2 separate regions of the Homo sapiens genome follow, and region 2 is linked to region 1. The links are contacts of gene promoters, found by promoter capture Hi-C in human tissues and cell types (Jung and others, 2019). All regions are on one chromosome and are shown on one strand. Each heading gives the region's core, a stretch centred on a gene start or on the middle of the fragment in contact. The rest is flanking DNA. Distances are from core to core; before and after follow the strand shown. Region 1 holds the start of AGO3 (argonaute RISC catalytic component 3). Region 2 overlaps CLSPN-DT (CLSPN divergent transcript).

What was found. The method cuts DNA at HindIII sites, captures the fragments that hold promoters and counts their contacts. A contact is called where the count stands out against the background at its distance.
Region 2: a fragment that was not itself captured here is called in contact with the fragment with the promoter of AGO3 in region 1 in 1 of the 25 tissues and cell types used here (mesenchymal stem cells).

Annotation. Positions count from the first base shown.
Region 1 is chr1:35,929,746-35,932,867 of GRCh38, reverse strand. AGO3 (argonaute RISC catalytic component 3) reads right to left here and starts at 1,763. Exons shown (of 19, transcript NM_024852.4): 1 at 1,423-1,763. The coding sequence starts at 1,441. It overlaps AGO1 (argonaute RISC component 1), which reads right to left. Exons shown (of 19, transcript NM_012199.5): 19 at 2,336-3,122. RefSeq lists enhancers at 576-1,098, 1,099-1,623, 1,624-2,147 and silencers at 1,261-1,600, 1,611-2,120. The HindIII fragment of the contact is 14,720 bases long and covers 1-3,122 here.
Region 2 is chr1:35,786,320-35,789,441 of GRCh38, reverse strand. All of the region lies in intron 2 of CLSPN-DT (CLSPN divergent transcript), which reads right to left. Among named protein-coding and RNA genes, the nearest start is that of CLSPN-DT, 18 kb to the right of the region's middle. The HindIII fragment of the contact is 5,779 bases long and covers 1-3,122 here.

The DNA of each region.
Region 1 (3,122 bases), core at 514-3,013:
GGTCTGACCTTCATGACTTGTTTTCCAGACTTGACAACAGGACAGTTATGTACAAAGATCACCTATGGTCCCAAATAATCACATCTCCTGTACAGTAAAACAGTAGTATGGTAATTTTTTTAAAAGGGCAGGACAGTTTCAGAAATACACAAATCAAAACTGAATAAGAGTCGAAATCTTTTCACAATCCAGACAGACCTTTTAAGACGATATGGGGGAAAGCGAAACAATGGAGCAGGAAAAAGAGATATGGTCTAAATTGATTAGAGAAACTTCCATGTAACAAAATTTGTAAAAAAAAAAAAAAAAAATTTGTAACTCTCTCCCCATCTCATCTCCCCAGTTTGAGTGCTTTTTTGCAACCATTTGACACGTAATCTATTCAACAAAGTTCTTAGCTATCGTTATGTCACTGGTTTCTTTTACGTAAGTTTTTCTTATATCAAATTGGCAAAAAGAGATATGGAATTCAGGAACTTGTAACACCATTAGTAACAAGACAGCCCCGCAAATATTTTGAAAATTAATTTACGAACTTGTGATCGTCTGAAGCATACTTTCAAATTTAATAAGCCAAGCATGATCATTTGTTAGGCAAACCGTTATGCAACACCTTTCTGTCCCTGAATTAATTACTTTAGAACCATAAACAATACTTTTCCTTTTTTAAGGACAAGTACTATCCATGTTGCAATTTTCTCTTAAGACTGCAAAACTGCTGCTCTTGCCCCCAGAGATAAAGCAGTTTTCTTAAATTCCAAATTTCCAGGAATATGACAACTACTTCTCTAAGGAATAGAGAATGAAAAAAAATATACTGTCAGCAATTTTAAGAACCACCTCCTCGTATAAGCAGGGATCCAGGCTGCTATGACATTTCCAAGCTCCTCAGAAACTATCTACCATGCTGCCACAAACAACAGAAAAGAACTCGAGGGTAGGAGCAATGCCATGTTGAATTTAACGTTGCACCAACACCTCCTTCGAACTTAATCTGAAGTTATCCGTTATCTCAGCCTATCTTCACAACTATCCTAAGAGGTAGGTAAGGGAGCTGGCTGGCTGCCCAGCCTCTACGGAACACACAACCTGGCTAAAGGACACGCACTCCAACTAGACAATGGCAAACCATTCTAAAGTCTAGAAGAAGGGTACTCCAGCAAAGAGTAATGCCGCCTAGATAACCCCAAACTTAAATCCTCCAAGCGTTTCCCCGCCTCGCAGTTTCGCCGACTCAGGGGCCCCCGGGGAACTGGGGCTGGGCTGCGGGGAGGTCGCGGAGGAGCAGGGCGAGGGGCGGGAGACCGAGCGATGCCCGCCCGACGCTCACCTCGCGCACCTGGGCCGGGCGGGAGGAGCAGGGATGCTCAGAGGACAGTAGCTGGGTGACATCCCCTACCTGGCCCAGCTACTCTGACTCACCTGCGGAGCCGATTTCCATTCATGGAGCTGGGGGGAGTGCTTCGAGGGAGAACGGAGCCCGCCACTGGCGGCAAGGAGGCGGCCCGGGGGGCGACGCGGCGCGACGCGACGGGCACTCTCACTCGGCCCCGAGGCGGGGGCGGCGACGGCTTCCCCTGAGCAACCGCACTCCGAAAGCTCTGGGCCGGAAGAGTCGCGGACGGAAAACGGCACAGGACTAGGCGAGAGGAAGGGGAGATGTGAGGCGCGGACAGAGGGGAGTCCCGTCCGGAAGTTGCATCGCCCGCGGCCGCCGACGCTCCCACCGCTCCTCCACGACTGCGGGCCGCCGCCGCCGACCTGCCCGGGGCCGCCCCGGAAGCTCGCCGGCGTCAGTTCCGCTGCCTGGCTTGCCCGGCGTCCTCGCCTCGCCTCTGGGCCCCGAGCCGTGCCGGAGCGACGTCGGGGCAGGAGCGGCCGGCGCGGAGGACGCCGGGGAGGTGTCCGGGAGCCGGGCCACATGCGGCGGGCTCGGCCGTACCCCGCCGGGCCGTGCCGGCCGGAGACAACGCGGAGGGGCAGGACTACTCGCGCCGCACGAGTGGGGGCGGTGCCTGTCTGCGACGACGTCGCGGCTGGCGGCGGGGCTTACCTGAGGAGTAGCCTACCTGGAGCCGGCGGGTGAAGGACCCCGAACTGCCGCGGAGGCCCCGAGCCGAGCCCGCTGGGGTAGGGCCACCCTCCTTCCTGAGCCCCCGCCACGCCCAGTCCGATCCACCCCACGCGCCGCCTCCTCACAGGCGGTCAAGTGACCACCGCAATTGACCTAAGTCCTAGGCTGCTTTAACGACCATTTTTAGGAAAAAAAAAATGTATTATAGTTTGGAAAAGATGACTAACAAACAGGACACTACACAAACATCAGATCGAGTAATTTCCATGTTTAAAACTCTTTAATAGCGCCTCGTCACACTTGAAAACCCAAACTCCTTTCCAGGGTGAAAACGCACGGCGTAAATGGGCCCCGCCTGTGCTACAGCTATACTGGTTGGCTTCCAATTCTCCCAACGGGCCAACCGCTGCTTTTTTCTGACTTGGAGCTTCTCTGCTTTTGGTTCCCTTGGCCAGGAACCCTCTCTCTCTTCTCCACCCTCCCCTTACGCCCTACCCCACAGCTTTTTTTTGCGTCTCAACGAAAGACATCTGAGACGCCTTTTCCGGACCACCCATCTATGGTGGGGCACCTGTTAGTCTACTACAGTATTGCCTTGGTAGCCCTTTGCCCAGTCTGTTATTTATTTACTACTTGTGTGCCCCCCACCTCACTTGAATGTCAGGCAAATATTAGGTCCTTAATAAATATTTGTTGCCTTAATGAAACATACTATTTTATTCAGGCTGAGGAATCATTCATAATTTCTCCCCATGTCCCTATGCTTCAGTAATACGGTTTTTTTTAATCAAAATAATTTTTTAAAGAGGAAAAGGAGAAAGAATATCCTATCTTCAGTTCCCCTCACTGTGGGACTTTGGATCAGTCACTTGATCTCTCTGGGCTTCAATTTTCTTATCTGAAAAATTGAGAGAACAGCATGTACCTTACACAGTTTGTAAGGTTAGGTAATATACATAAAGCACAGAGAAAATCCTCCCCAAATGTTAGTGAATAACACAAGTATTTACTATTTACCATTTTAAAGTACTTACCATATAATATTAAA
Region 2 (3,122 bases), core at 399-2,898, 140 kb after region 1:
AGGTGGGATAATTCTGAGGCATGTGTTCTACACTATTTCCTGGAGTTTCCCTGCAGGACTGAGATCCAGTCAATCAGTGGTAGCTGGCTTAATAACACACCCTTTATTGGCTGCTGTCCCTTCCACATGTCATTTCCCACTCTCCTTCAAGTGGTCCCTGTACTTCTAAAATAAATTACTTGAACACTTTTAGGGGAACAAACTAATACATAACATTTTTGGCTTGAGCGACTGGAAAGATATTTATTAATATTTATTTATTGGTCGGGCGCGGTGGCTCACGCCTGTAATCCCAGCACTTTGGGAGACCGAGGTGGATGGATCACAAGGTCAGGAGTTCGAGACCAGCCTGGCCAACATGGTGAAACCCCATCTCTACTAAAAATACAAAAAAATTAGCCAGGTATGGTGCTGTGTGCCTGTAATCCCAGCTACTCAGGAGGCTGAGGAAGGAGAATTGCTTGAACCTGGGAGGCGGAAGTTGCAGTGAGCCAAGATTGTGCCACTACACTCCAGCCTAGGGGACAGAGAGAGACTCTGTCTCAAAAAAAATTATTAATAAGTTGACATTTATTAAGATGAGGGAGACTTTAGTAGATACAGATTCTTGGAGAGAAGATTGGTAATATATTTTGGGTTTTTGTTTTGTTTTGTTTTGACACAGTGTGTTACTCTGTCGCCCAGGCTGAAGTGTAGTGGCATGATCTCAGCTCACTACAACCTCTGCCTCCCAAGTTCAAGCATTCACCTGCCTCAGCTCCCCCAAGTATCTGGGATTACAGGCATGCACCGCCACACCGGGCTAATTTTTGTATTTTTAGTAGAGACGGGGTTTCACCATGTTGGCCAGACGGGTGTCGAACTCCTGACCTCAGGTGATCTGCCCACCTTGGCCTCCCAAAGTGCTGGGATTGATTACAGGCATGAGCCACCACTCCCGGCCAGTAATATATTTTGAACACATTAGTTTTGAGGTGCCTGTAAGGTCACCAAGTGGAGAGGCTGAGTACGCATAGAGATATACAGTCTGGAGTCAGAAGATAAATTGCTCTAAAAATATACATTTGGGAGTCAACTGCATATAAAGAATATTTAGGGCCACGAGGCTGATAAGCTTACTAAAAGAGTGAGTGTAGATGGAGAAAAGAAGAGGTCCTTGTGTCCTGGGCATTGCAACATGTAAAGGTCAAGGAGGTGAGGGAGATCCAGCAAAGGTGATTGGAGAGGATCAGCCAGGGAGGTAGAAGGAAGAGAAGAGTGTGGGAAACCCCAGAAACAAAGGGAGTTACATGTTCTATTAGTCTTTTTCTTTTTCTTTTTCTTTTCGTCTCCCTCATTTATTTTCGGGCTTTCCTTAAAAGTCTGGTGATCCTTTTTTGTCCATTCACATCAAAGAGGTAGGTATTAAAAGACTGATTTGAATTCTGTATCTATGTATGAGGTTTGTCCGTTGGTAGCTTTTCATAATGGAAGCCCCAACTTTAGGTCATTTCTCTGGGGCTGTTTAGTTTCTCCTGAAAATTCCCCCATTTGCATGCCTAGGGAGGGAGCAGCCTAGCCACCAGGATAAGGAGACTGTGGGGGCTGGGGTAGGAATGGACAGAGAAGGGTGTGTCTCATGGTTCAATATGTAGACTTCCAGTGGCTCGCTCTCTCTCTTAAGGCTCCCCTTTGGTTCAGTTGCTCCACAGACTAAACCTCTAGACTCCTGCCAGACTCCTGAAAGGTTCTAGATCATAGAGGGCTCTAGAGGCTACCTAATCCTTATAGAGACTTCCTTTTTTTTTTTTTTTTGAGACGGAGTCTCGCTCTGTCACCCAGGCTGGAGTGCAGTGGGGCGATCTCGGCTCACTGCAAGCCCCGCCTCCCGGGTTCACGCCATTCTCCCGCCTCAGCCTCCCGAATAGCTGGGACTACAGGCGCCTGCCACCATGCCCGGCTAATTTTTTTTTTTTTTTTTTGTATTTTTTTTTAGTAGAGACGGGGTTTCAGCGTGTTAGCCAGGGTGGTCTCGATCTCCTGACCTCGTGATCCACCCGCCTCGGCCTCCCAAAGTGTTGGGATTACAGGCGTGAGCCACCGCTCCCGGCCTAGAGACTTTCAACCAATCCTCTTGTCTTTCACCCATTCTTCTTCCTGGGTTCCTGGATCCCCTAGTATTTGAGCCTAGCTGGAATTCTGTGGCAGGAAATGGCTAGCTTCTCATGAGCACCACCTCTGCAGACACTTGGTATACAGCTTTCTCACCACAGCTGATTTTTCCACTTAGCTTTCCATCTTCTCATCCTCTGATGTTTTTCTCCCACTCTCTTTGTTCTTGTGGGTTTATTCTGGTTTTATTCATTTGCTCTCATTTTTTCTGGGGCTCCAGGAAAGGAGATAAATATATGTGTTCAAACCACCGTTGTTCCTCCTTCACAGGAGGAATCAAATATCCAGATTATCAAATATCCAGCAATTTTTAAAGTTCTGGGACCACAATTTCAGGAAAGATATAAGCTCTTCCCTGTAGAAGCCACATTCCTTGGAGTTCTTGGTACTTCTGGAGCTCCACAGTATTCCTTGTTTTCTTTTTCCCAGAGGCTAGAAATGGTCCAGAAGCATTTCTGCCTGGTCCATCCATCTGTTTTCCAGCTATCTGACTGTGGAGGCATGTCCTACTTCCCGAGGAGCCAACTGAGGTTGTCTCCTCCCTGTTGCCAAGCCTTATGTGTCTGAGATCCACATAGCAGAAATATATGTACAACTGTATTAAGTCCTTAAAGTGAGGGTAGTTAGGAAAAGTCATCTTTAAGTTATATGGAGAAAATATTTGGAAACTTTGGGCTGAGAACGTGTGTATGGAGTGGGTGAAGGCAATTTGGGCCACAAAGCTTTTTTTTTTTGAGACAAGGTCCCTCTCTGTCACCCACGCTGGAGTGCAGTGTCGCCATCTCAGCTCACTGCAACCTCTGACCCCTCAGGGTCAAGTGATCTTCCACCTCAGCCTCCCAGGTAGCTGGGACTACAGGCGTGCACAACAGCATCTGGCTAATTTTTGTATTTTTTGTAGAGATGGAGTTTTGTCATGTTGCCCAGGCTGATCTCGAACTCCTGACCTCAAGTGATACGCCCGCCTCGAC